3 separate regions of the Homo sapiens genome follow, and regions 1 and 2 are each linked to region 3. The links are contacts of gene promoters, found by promoter capture Hi-C in blood cells and fetal thymus (Javierre and others, 2016). All regions are on one chromosome and are shown on one strand. The core of a region is centred on a gene start or on the middle of the fragment in contact, and the rest is flanking DNA. Distances in the headings are between cores, read along the strand shown.

Region 1 (3,710 bases), core at 1,062-3,561, 2.4 Mb after region 3:
TGGGCCAGAGGGTGATGGCAGGAATAATGAAAGGGGAAGAAGCCCAAGATGAAACTAAAAGGGACGTGTCAAGGCACCCCAGTGGATCTCTACCCCTGTGCTGCTGGGTTTGCTTTCCAATGCAGGTCGGGGTTTTGCTTGAGTGAGAGAAGACATTTCTGCACAAATACTGGGCTTAAGCAGGTATGGGTTCTCTGCTGGGTGGAGGTGAGCAGGGGCTATACCCTCTGTACTACCCTGATCCTAAAAGAGACCAGCCAGTCAGAGCTGCAGAAGCCACCCATCCCACCTCCTTTCTGCAAACCCCAAAAACCCTCTGTTTTCTGTAGGAGGGACCCCTGGATGCTGTTCAGAGTGGAGAAGGCTCCCAAAGCAAGCTGCAGATGAATGAAGTGGGAGGATGAAGAGTCCAGGAGATGAAGAAGAGAGACAAGATGGGGGACAGGGCAGGGCTGCAGGGCGTGGGAAGCTTCTCTCTTGATATCTCTGTTTTAAGTCATCCACAGTTCCGATTCACAAAGCAGGGTCACAATTATCAGTACAAGCCAGGCACAGCCCACTTCCCCTCTTCTGACAGTGCTGATGTTTCCCAACCAGATCCATGCAGACCAGATCCAAAACCCTCTCCAGAAACTCAGGGAGCCGACAGCCCCGTACACCACACCTCACGGCAGGCAGGAGGAGGGATGGGAGGAGATTGAAGGAAGGGCCAGAACAACAAGGCACAGATCCCTTCCTGGGGGTCCGATAGGCTGCAGTCAGCAGTCACCCGCTACCTAGACATGCACAGCCTGCTGCTGCCTCTGGCCCTGATCTGCTCAGACCCCAGACCCTGGAGAGATGGCCCTTCTAAAGGGCCGAGGTGACAAGACAAGGGCGATCCCAGGAAGCAGTCTGGAAGTCGAGAGAACACTGGATGTGAAGTCAAAGGCATGGTAGGAGTCTTCACTCTGTGATGTCCCCACTGTGCAACACCAGGCAAGTCCTCTTCCTTTCAGGCCTCAGTTTCCTCATCTGTAGAATGCAGGGAGTGAGCCAGACCGTCTCTAAGTCCTTAGCTCTGGGACCAAGAGTCCTAAGCCCAGGGCAGCACCTGCCGGTTGCCCCCTGCAGACCCCTTCCATGGGTTCCTCTCCCTTCATCCCTGCCCTCCAATGCCCTCAGCACATGCTCTCTCCTCCACCCCAGAGGTTGCAGCCACCAGAGCATCCCTCAGGGTAGATCCCAGGAAGTGCCGACTGGATGGTGTGAGTGGATAAGAAACAGGCCACGAGCAGTCCACAAGGTGGCCCTGAGATGCCGGGGAAGGCCAGGCACTGAAGGGCAGTGAGATGACCCACAATGGGGGTGGGTCTCCAGTTCCAACACTCACTTCCTAGAGAACAGTCTGGCTTCTGAAATTTCAGACACAAATTATTCCAGAGGCCAGGGAAGTCCAGCCTCAAAAGTCCCTCCTCCTTGTCCTCAGGCCCCCACTGCCCTCCATCCTGACATACCAGGGGGAGCACTGAGCCATCTCTGGGCCGCACGGCCCCTATGGCTGATGCAAATCTCCATCAAACCCCCACCCCTGCCCCTGGGCCCACACTCACATGGTCTTGTGTCCCGTTCCATTATTAATAAAAGTAACAACAATAATCACACTCAACTTGTAGAGAGCCCTTAGCATTGTACCAGGCCAAGTGTTTTGCAGAAATTATCTTACTTAATCCTCTCAGTCACCCAGTGAAGGAGGGGTGATAGCCCCATTTTACAGAGCAGCAAACTGAGGCTCAGAGAGGTTAAGTATCACTGAGAAGATTTAGAACATCTGACCTGAGCTCTCATCTTCTTTCCACTTTATGTATGCATCTGCACATTCACCTTTTCCACTTTCCCTCCTTTTACAGAGATAGAGGATGCTCTTCTTTTATTTATCCAAAACCCAGCATAAAGTGAGGCTCTGTGGACAGAGATGAACGATGGTGCCCCAGCCTTCCAGGAAATCTCAGCTTCAGTTTGCACCTCTTATTCTCTCTCTCCCAAATCCTCCATGCCCTGCATCCTCCCCGTCGGGTCTCTCCTGCTCCTTCAGGCTCTCCCATCCACTGGCTCTTCCTTTGTGCCCACATTTCCCTTAAAAAGCTGCATTTCCCACCAACCTATCACCAGCTTTCCCTTGGTGTTAGGAGCTGACTGCTGTCCACTCCTCACCCCCAACATAAAATTCATTTGTTGAAGTCCTAGCCCCTACCTAGAGCCTCGGTGTGTGACTGTATTTGGAGATAGAACCTTTAAAGAGGTAATTAAGATACAATGAGGTCATTAGGATGGGCCTTAATCCAATGTGACTGGGTCCTTATAAGAGGAAATGTGGGCAGGTGAAAAGAGAGACACCGGGGACATGTGCACACAGAAGGATGACCAGGTGAAGGGGCAGCAAGAAGGCCGCCATCTGCAAGCCAAGGAGAGAGGCCCTAGAGGAACCCAGTCCTGCTGGCTCCTTGATGTTGGACTTCCAGCCTCTAGAACGGTGAGGAATCCACTTCTTCTGTTTAAGACACCCAGTCTGTGGGACTTCGTTATGGCAGCAGCAGCAGATTAACACACCTGGTAACCAAACCCTCAGGGGAACACTCACTGCCCGTTCCTCCCTCCCCCTTTACCCACCTCAGTTCTGGGCCACTGAGGTCGCTGACCACTACCCTCCCCCTAGAAGCTGCATGCCCCTCGCAGCAGTACCAAGCATTCCCCTTGCTAGCTCACTCCCGTGGGTCCTTTCTCCTTACTCCTGTATCCAGATGGAAACAGGGTTCTCACCTTGGCCCTCCTCCCTTCTTCATGTTCACTGGCATCCTTGGCTTCAGCCCTCACCTCTAGACACATAATTCACTAACCTGCAGGCCTGGTTTTTATGCCCAAGCCAGCCCAGAAACTCCAACTGCTGGCAGACATCTGCCTCTGGATTTCCAGGCCAAACCTAAACCCAATGTGTGAAACCAGAATCATGCTTTTCCTTCTCATATCCACTCCCTGCTGATCTTCCTCTATCTCTGGGCACGTCACTCCCCTCTCTCCTGGGCTCCCCACTGGAAATCCCAGCACTGAGAATCCATGCATGCCCCCTCAGCTCAAATCCTGCCACTCTGACCTCCATGCCATTTCTCTCTCCCACCCCCTCTTCCTATATCTGATTTTCATCCCTCCATCTGGAGAGATTCCACACCTCCCGCTGGATCTCCCCATCCTGGCTGTCTGCTACTTCCAATCCATGGCTGGCTGTTATGGCTCAATCTTCCTGAAACATGAGTCTCATCCTATCAGTCCCCTTGCCCCCATACTACCCTGTAGTGCATAAAGGATCTGTCTACACCTGCACTCAGAGCCTCTGGGAGCTGTGGTAATTGCTGCCCCTTCCAACTCCCTTCCTCTTGGTCAGTTGTGACCCACCACTCAGATCCCACCACAGCCTTCCTGATTCCCCTGGGCAGAAACAGACCCTCCTCCAGGAAAACCCACAGCACATGACCCCAGTACTCTTCACCTCTTCCCTTGTATTATAGTTGTCTATTGGGGTCATCACTGTGATCCTCAAAATAACTTCCACAAAGCCTCACACGCAGTAACAGAGGGGAACTGGAGGTCTGCAAGCCAACAAGCTCTCTAGATATGGCAGCACCCCCAGAAGCCCCTCCAGCTTCTGCCCCCTTCACCTCACCTTGCCATAGAGA
Region 2 (4,134 bases), core at 1,055-3,554, 2.8 Mb after region 3:
GTCCTCCAGCCTTGGTCTCAAGAAAATGTTTTTAATGACCTAACAACATGATTAGATCCTCCTTGGATCTTGGTGAAAGCAAAGAATGAGAAACCACCTGACTTGTAGAAGGATTTCTTGCCCCGTCCTCAACAATAATTAATACATTATTTAGAATTGCCCTATTGTTTCTCCTGGAGACTTTTATTTCCCAAGGTAATGCAGCAGAGCAAGATTTAGAACAGGTGCAGTGTGAATTGCCTTTGAAAAGTGGGAGACAGCTGGTTACACATGAGGAGAGGGAAGCTGAACCCCAAAGACCCCAGGCATATTCTGAGGCCCAGCACCATGGAAGCAGAGGATCTGGATATTGACTCTCTTAAAACTCTCCTTGGTTGGGTGTGGTGGCTCACGCCTGTAATCCCAGCACTTTGAGAGGCCAAGGTGGGTGGATCACGAGGTCGGGAGTTCGAGACCAGCCTGACCAACATGGTGAAACCCCATCTCTACTAAAAATACAAAAATTAGCTGGGCATGGTGGCACGTGCCTGTAATCCCAGCTGTTCCTGAGGCTGAGGCAGGAAAATTACTTGAACCCGGGAGGCACATGTTGCAGTGAGCCGAGATTGTGCCACTGCATTCCAGCCTGGGTGACAGAGTGAGACTCCATCTCAAAAACAAAAACAAACAAAACAAAAAAAACTCTCCTTGCCCCAGATTTACCTCCCACAGTCCCCATGCCTGAAGACCGCTGTCCTATAACCCCTTCCCCTCTGCTCTCTGATCAACGCTGCCTCCTAAGTAGCATTTGAATCTGTCATTTCAAATGCTACTTAGGTGGGGAGCTCTTTATCCTCCACACCACTCTGGACATCATGATCTTCCAAATTTCCACAAACACTCCCCCACTCCTTTCTCCAGTCCTCATCCATTCCTCTCTATGCTGCAGCCAGAACAAGTTTTTTCAAATGCAGATTCACTGGTAAACTATCTATGGCTTAAATCCCTCTGCCTCCCCAAAGCCTTCAGGGGCCTGGGTAAAAGGATTGATCTCTCTTGTGACCTCATCCCTTGTCCTGCTTCCCTCAAATTTGTACTCCCATCAGAAAGAGCTCCTAGCTTATTTCTCATCACAGGTACGTTTCCAAATCACTTCTGCTTGCAAAATGTGAACTAAGAGAAGTCAGACTGCTTAGGTAAGGATCTTTGGATTCTAGGTGTTTCTCCTTAATTTAAGTGTCAATTTCCTTAACTGTAAAACTGAAATAATAGTAAGGTCATTGTACAAATTAACTGAGTATTTTGCCTGGCACATCATTCGTGCTCACATAATACGTGTGAACTGTTTATTATTGTTCTTGTTATTACTCATGTTACACTGAATTTTCTTTCTTTCTTTCTTTCTTTTTTTTTGAGACGGAGTTTTGCTCTTGGTGCCCAGGCTGGATGGAGTGCAATGGCGCGATCTCGGCTCACTGCAACCTCCGCCTTCTGGGCTCAAGCGATTCTCCTGCCTCAGCCTCCCGAGTAGCTGGGATTACAGGCTCCCGTCAACGCCCGGCTAATTTTTGTATTTTTGGAGAGATGGGGTTTCATGTTGGTCAGGCTGGTCTCAAACTCCTGACTTCAGGTGATCACCTGCCTCGGCCTCCCAAAGTGCTGGGATTACAGTCGTGAGCCACCGCGCCCCGGCCTCATGTTGCACTGAATTTTCTGTTAACCTTGCTGTTTCCCTGCTGTTAGATAAACAACTCAGGATGCTTATGTGTTTATTGTGTGCATCCCACTGCCAAGCCCACGTAGGAACTTAATACTTAGGAGTCAAGTGTTGCAAAAGAATAAATGAAAAAGCAGCGCTGACGGAGGAAACCTGACTTTCAAAGTCTCTCTTTAGTGCCTACTGTGTATATTATTTCCTTGAATCCCAGAACACCCGAGGAGGTAAGGGCCGATGTTCCCAATCTGCAGATGTGGGTGTACTCAGTAAGTCATTCGGCCTTTGGTGGTACCAGGCTTACAGGAGCCCACATCCCGACCCAGGTAGAGGAGTGGATTGGAGCCGGGGAACACTGATGGGACCGGGCAGGGACGACAGGAGGTCAGTCTCCCTTCCCTTCTCTTTAAAATTTCCCGCCAGTATGGCCGGCTCGCAGCACGAGTTACGCCCTCTTCAGGAGTCCCTCCCCTTCTGCTCTCGCCCGCCTCCCCGCTGCCAGGCAGGCTCGACCAATCAGAAGAGGTCTTGGGCGGGCGCTGCCGTCCAGCGAGCCAATAGGCGGGCAGTCGGAGCCGGGCTTGCCCGGGCATGTGGGAGCTGCCGGCTTTCCGGACGCCACGTGCAGACCGGAAGAGACACGCGGGGCTTCAGGTGAGATCCAGGACCCTGCACCGGGGCGGCGGGGTCGGGCGGGCTGAGGCCGCGTGTCCCGGGTCGCAGGTCCCCGCGCGTTGTTTCCGCCCCGGCCTGCGGCGGGGACGCCTGAACTGGGCTGACCCTGCCCTACCGGCCCGCAGAAAAGCAGGCCGGGCGCCGCCTGTCTCCAGCCCTCGCTCTGCTCGGGGGTCCAGGGCCAGAGGGGGCGGCGCTGGTCGTTGGGACTCGGCCCAGCTGCCGCGGCCAGCAAGTGACCAACGCCCGAGTCCTTCCCGGTGAGATCAGGCCTCCCACGCGTCACGCCTGGGAGAACGCCAGCCGGCGGGGAGGTCGTGCCAGGATAGCAGACTTTAGTTGTTGTCGTTGTTCCGTGGACTTTTTAGCAGCACAGGGGACCTTATCGAGCCAGGTTTTTTCAGGTTTGGGCGATTATCAGAATTGTGGCTTGAGGGTAGGGGTCGTCCGCGCTCTTTTTAAAAATCTAGATTCTCAGGCCCCTTTCCCCAAAATAGCAATTAGGACGGTGTGGGAGTGGGCCTGAAAATCAGCCTTTCATCAGATGTCATATGGTAATTAACTACATTTGGGAAGCCCTTATCTAATTCACAGCCCTCGGTTGATGGTGAAGAGACGTGACTTGCCCCAGATCATCTAGCTACTTAGTGCCAGAGGAGGGTCTAGAACTGCCCTCTGCCCTCTTGATCAGCCAGCAGGTTGGTGGCTCTCATGCCACCGAGGATTCTGACTTCTTGGTTCCTTTGGGGCCTTTGCTCCATTGACTCTGCAGCTGGGACCCTTTCTTTAGGCCAGACCCCCTCCCTGCCTGAAGGCCGGGTGTCTGACCCCCAGAGCGCTGGGTCCAGGCTAGAGAAAGGCTTGTGTTTGTCCTTGTTGAAAGGGTTGTTTTATCTGAGCGGAACTTCTCTCCAGCTTCACTGAGCTACATTTGGGTCCCCAAAGAGGTGTGTCCTTGATGACTGTTGGTTTTGACGTGTCAGCATGTAGCAGGAGGAGCCGCGGACAAAACCCCACAGAGGTAGTGAAGGAATTGGCTTTTAATCAGCTGGAAGCATCGGCAGACTAGCATCTCAAAATCCGAGCTTGTTGAGTGCACAGTTTCTGTCCCTTTTAAGGACTCACAACACTAAAGATTTTACAAGAAAGGGCCATGATTGATTGAGCAATCTAGGGGGTATGTGACAGGGACTGCATGCACCGGTAGTCAGAGTGAAACAGAACAGAACAGAACAAGAGATTTCACAGTGTCCTTCTATACAATGTCTGAAATCTATGGATAACATCGGTTGCTAGGTCATGGGTTTAATTTTAACTATCAGGCTAAGGTCAGGCAGGCCCAGGCCTGGTTTTGGGTCTGGTTTTGGGTCTGGTGCGTGGCGCCGGGCTGCCTGCCTTTGGTTTTGCTTCCTTGTTTCTTCTTAAAACAGGTACTGAGTATAAAATAATACAGAACAATATGAGGGGGAGGTCTCTTTCTCTCTTCTCTTAAGCAAGGTCAGGGTGTTTGGAAAAGGACTACTTTCCTCTCTTGAAATAGGAGGCTACAGAGACCTTTTCTCAGATAACTTAATTTCTGGCTTCTTTAAAACCTTGCCAGTAGGATCAGGAAAGCCACCCACCCTACTCCTAGCCTCAGCCCCTCACAGAGAAAGGAGGGGACTATCCGCCAGCCCCCTTTCCCAAATTAGTTATTAGCAGGGTGGGCATTGGGCTTCTTAGGCTTTTTTCTCCCATTGCTGGGCTGAGGCAGATTAAGGTTCTGA
Region 3 (4,280 bases), core at 292-2,791:
GGAAAAAGACTGACTACGTCAACCTTCACAGGCACAGCTTGTGGACCCAAGAGCCTCCGGTCTTGGGACACCAAATGGACCCTGAGGTGGGGTAGACTTTGTGTCCTACTCTTCCCCAGACCCCCACGCAAGCCTTCACCAACATGCCAGGAATCCTCACAGCTCAGATCAGCACACTGAGCATCAGTTCCTCCTATGAATGGGGAGACTGGGACCCAGGGTCCCAGAGGGCTTGGCCCCATAACGGTCACTGGAATCTGGTCCAGGATACAGACCGTGGAATCCTGCCTCCTCTCCTGGTGCTACTGCTAACTTCCTTCCCTTCCTCTCTCTATTGGGCCGATAGAGTGGAACCAAATGGTCCAGACACCTGGCATTCTCTGCCCTGACTACCGAGGAGAGTCAAAGTCCAGCCCGCCTTCCCCAAGGTCAAATTCACCGGGATCCAGCAGGACCCAAGAGCGTCCAGATTAAATCTGCAGGGGCCTGGGTCCGCCCCCTCACCCACAGTTCGTTGGGTCAGGCCTCTAGAGAGATGTTTCTTTGTTCAAAGACAATGGGAATGCACTTTGGGGGCTTAGAGCAGCAACACAAAAAAAGTATCTGGTATCTCCCGGGCACAATCCCCCAAGAGAAAAGCTTCTAAAGCAACTACGAAAGAGACAGGGGGAGTGGGGGCGTAACATCGCGCGGTGTGTCTCGGAGCCAGGGCAAGTGTGGTAATTAGAGTCAGGCTAGAGGGCTTGCTCTGGACCTGCCAGTCTGGCCGCCACCCAGGTGGACAGGTGGGTGTGCCTTTGAGTGCGACCTTTCTCTGCCGCTGGACAGTTCTGCAAACCGAAACGAGGGACCCTGGCAGGCGGAACGTGAACGGCTCGGGGCTCCGCGGCCAGGCCCGCGCAAACCCTCCCCTTGTGAACCCCGGGCCCTCGCTCTGCGCCAGGCAGGCAGCCATCCGGCCTGGGCGTCCAAGGCGCGGGGCATCGCCGCTCGCGTCCTCAAAGACAAGCAGTCTCTCTTTCCAGGATCAATAGTAATTTTTTAAAAAAAAGAGTCTGCGGACTCAATGAATCAACCACTCCCTGGGGAAAGAGTAGCGGCTCCCGCGCGCAACATCCATTTGCCAAACAATTCATTCCCTCGCGCAGAGCTCTCGGCGAATTCCCTCGCGGAGCCGCGGGGTGCCGGCCGGCCGCCGCTCCCCACCATTGTCCCAGGGCCCCGGCCCCAGCCGCGGGGCCCCCTCCCGGGACACGTAGTCCCGCGGGGGCTCCGAGCGCTTGGTCCCGGCCCGGCCCGGGGTGGTGAGTCCCCAGCGCAGGGAGCGGGGGCGCGGGTGCTGCGGCCAGAGCACGGCGTCCCCGCCCGGCCTGGATACTCACTGCCGGAGACGATCCCCGCCGCCGCCGCCGCCTCAGAGACCACTCCCGGCAGCCCGCGCGAGCTCAACAGGCTCCGCCGCGGCTCCCGTCGGCCGGCTCTCCACAGGCAAAAACGCTCTCGCTGCGATACAGCCTAGGCGCCGCCAACAAACTAGTTTCTCCGGCCTTCCCGCCCCGCCTCCCGGCCCGAAGAGCAGCAGCCAATCAGAGGCATCGCCTCTGTGACGGATGGGCAGCCGAACCCTTCAGTGCAGCCGCAGAAAAGAAGGGGGTGGGCCCCAGGCCGCGCCGGCACCGGGGGGTGGGGGGCCGGGGGCGGGGAGGGGGGGGGACCGGGGGCGGGGCGGGGCGAGGAAAAGGACTTCGACCAGATTCTTAAAGAGACAGGCGCCTGCCCAACCCCGCCGCCCAAGTTTGGGAACAAAACGCGACGGTGTTCTAGAGCTTTCCAGAGGGAGCACTGTAGATTGCATATGCCTCTTTTGTGTTCGGGTCACAAGTGTTGTAGATCTCTTTAGACTCTTCAGAGCCACACTAGTAGTTGCCCGAGTGTTAATGAAACCCTGTCTTTCACTCTGGGCTTGTTTGAATGTTTGGGACTTTCTGCAGCCTCCAAACCCCACCTGTACTTGAAATCTGTATTTTTTGGAGTATTTCAGCTCTCCTCTCTGTGTCATTTCTCACTAAACTCCTTTCGTAAGCCAGCCTTTAAATGTTCGTTCATTCATTCATTCATCCATCCATCCAATAATTTCTTCCAGGAACGTTTCCTGGACGCCCACACCATGCACTCATCTTGGAGGGGGAGAACGGTTTGTGATTCTTCGTCCTTTTCCCTCCTGACTACTACTTCAGCTTACTGTGTGTGTCCAATCTCATCCGTAAAGCGGCAGATAAAAACTCCTCATCGGATTATTTGGGGGATTAAAGGAGACAAATTCCCAGACAAATGAGTGCGCAATAAATGTCCTCTCTTTTCTCCCTCCCAATGAAAATCGATAATTCAAGTAGGTTGCTTAAGGATACAAAAGGTAAAGCATAGAAAGTGATAAGAACGAAAGAGCCAAGCCTGGGGCGGGGAAATTCCCAGGAAGCAGAGGTCACCCTGACGGAGGTGGAGGTGGGAGGTGCAAGGAAGGTCTAAGAAAGTGTACAAAGATTTGGGAGAGGGGATAGGATTGTGACTAGTGGAACCTGGGAAATAGAGCCCCTGGGTAGAAAGCTGCTTAGACAGGACAGATATGCCAGGGTTAAAAGACTGGGAGATGATGAGAAGATACCACCAGGGAAGGCATTTTTGGGAAACAGCTTGATGTTCTGGGTTTGAAGCCCCGCCCTGCCCCTCAAGAGCTGGGTAGGACTGAAGCAGATGGCTCAGACTCTCTGGTGTCTGGTTCTTACTGGTGAAGAGGATTCTAAAACCTTTCTTGCAGGGGTATGGGAAAGATTAAGATAACATATGGAATAGGCCTGGCATGTAGTAAGTGCTCAGTACAGATTTGTGCTTCCATTTGGCCCAGATCTGCAGACATCTAAGGCACCAGGGTTCTGATATTTATGAACAATATTGGCCAGAGGTAAGAAGCTTGCCAAGTGCACTGTTAAGGTGCCTTCTGAAGAGAAAAGGTAGTGAGAGGTGAAGCCAGCTGGACTTTCTGGGTCCAGTGGGGACTTGGAGAACTTTTCTGTCTTACAAGAGGATTGTAAAATGCACCAATCAGCGCTCTGTATCTAGCTAGAGGTTTGTAAAATGTACCAATTAGTGCTCTGTAGAAATGCACCAATCAGCACTCTGTGGCTAGCTAGAGGTTTGTAAAACGGACCAATCAGCACTCTGTAAAATGGACCAATCAGCAGCACATGGGCCTGGACAAATAAGCTAATAAAAGCTGGCCGCCCCCCAGCCAGGAGCAGCAACCCACTTGGGTCCCCTTTGGCGCTGTGGGGGCTTTGTTCTTTCGCTCTCCACGGTAAATTTTTCTGCTGCTCACTCTTTGGGTTCACGCCACCTCTAAGAGCTGTAACACTCACCGTGAAGGTCCGCAGCTTCATTCCTGAAGTCAGCGAGACCACCAACCCACCGGAAGGAACCAGCTCCAACACATTAGCATCAAAGTAATTACTTCATTAAGGAAATGACAGAGATCACATTTGTAGTTTTATCCTGCCGATTTTCTAGCACTAGAGTGTTTATAGAATTGTTGGTTGAATGAAGCTCCACATGCAAAATTGATTCTTGGCAAGTTTATAACTGTTGCTTATTATTTTATGCAGGTTCGCTGTAAAATTATAAGTGCCAACCGCCCAGTAAAATCTGGTCCACATTATAATTTTTTCTCTCTTCAACTCCAAGGCTTAAATTAGGTACTAGAATATATTAAAATCAAATACAGTGTAAGCAATGGGACAAAATCAGACTAAGAACACGTGTGGAGTTAATCGAATTTAGGTACGATTTGAAAGAAGATGAGAGGAAGAGCGGAAGTTTGCCTTGCCATCTATTGCGGACCCTGGAGCATTACCGTCAACGCAGCCCTTACCAGCCAGTGTTGTAATGGCCTGCTTAGCTAGTCCACCTGCTGTGCAGGGAGCTCTGGGAGGGCAGGGACCATGAATTCATCTCAGAACTCTTAGGGCTGCATCAAAGTTGTCTACACAGTTTTGAAATACTGTGAATAAATCTCATATCCGTTAGAATTAGTTTTTACTGCATATGACAGAAAACCCAAAATTAACTGTGACTGAAACAAGATAGAAGTTTCTTGCTTATGCAAAATAAAGCTAAAGTTAAGCTATCCTTTGTTGGCAACTCCACAGTTGTCAGAAACACGGGCTACTGTATTTTTATTCCTTCATCTGTAATGCTTGGTTCCCATTTGCAAGGTTGCCCCATAGTCC

Evidence for each region. Contacts are between HindIII fragments. The CHiCAGO score rates a contact against its expected background, and 5 or more counts as called.
Region 1: a contact is called between a fragment that was not itself captured here and the fragment with the promoter of KLHL25 in region 3, in 2 of 17 cell types (M2 macrophages and M0 macrophages). The highest score is 7.7, in M2 macrophages.
Region 2: the fragment with the promoter of AEN here is called in contact with the fragment with the promoter of KLHL25 in region 3 in 4 of 17 cell types (M0 macrophages, M1 macrophages, neutrophils and 1 more); the score reaches 8.8 in M0 macrophages.

Annotation. Positions count from the first base shown.
Region 1 is chr15:88,225,125-88,228,834 of GRCh38, forward strand. All of the region lies in intron 3 of NTRK3 (neurotrophic receptor tyrosine kinase 3), which reads right to left. Among named protein-coding and RNA genes, the nearest start is that of NTRK3-AS1, 26 kb to the right of the region's middle. The HindIII fragment of the contact is 3,689 bases long and covers 468-3,710 here.
Region 2 is chr15:88,619,036-88,623,169 of GRCh38, forward strand. It overlaps AEN (apoptosis enhancing nuclease), which reads left to right and starts at 2,305. Exons shown (of 4, transcript NM_022767.4): 1 at 2,305-2,347. RefSeq lists enhancers at 1,513-2,186, 2,187-2,860, 2,190-2,349, 3,836-4,134 and a silencer at 2,370-2,559. The HindIII fragment of the contact is 13,176 bases long and covers 1-4,134 here.
Region 3 is chr15:85,793,384-85,797,663 of GRCh38, forward strand. KLHL25 (kelch like family member 25) reads right to left here and starts at 1,542. Exons shown (of 3, transcript NM_022480.4): 1 at 1,383-1,542. RefSeq lists silencers at 1,213-1,512, 1,663-1,732. The HindIII fragment of the contact is 2,328 bases long and covers 638-2,965 here.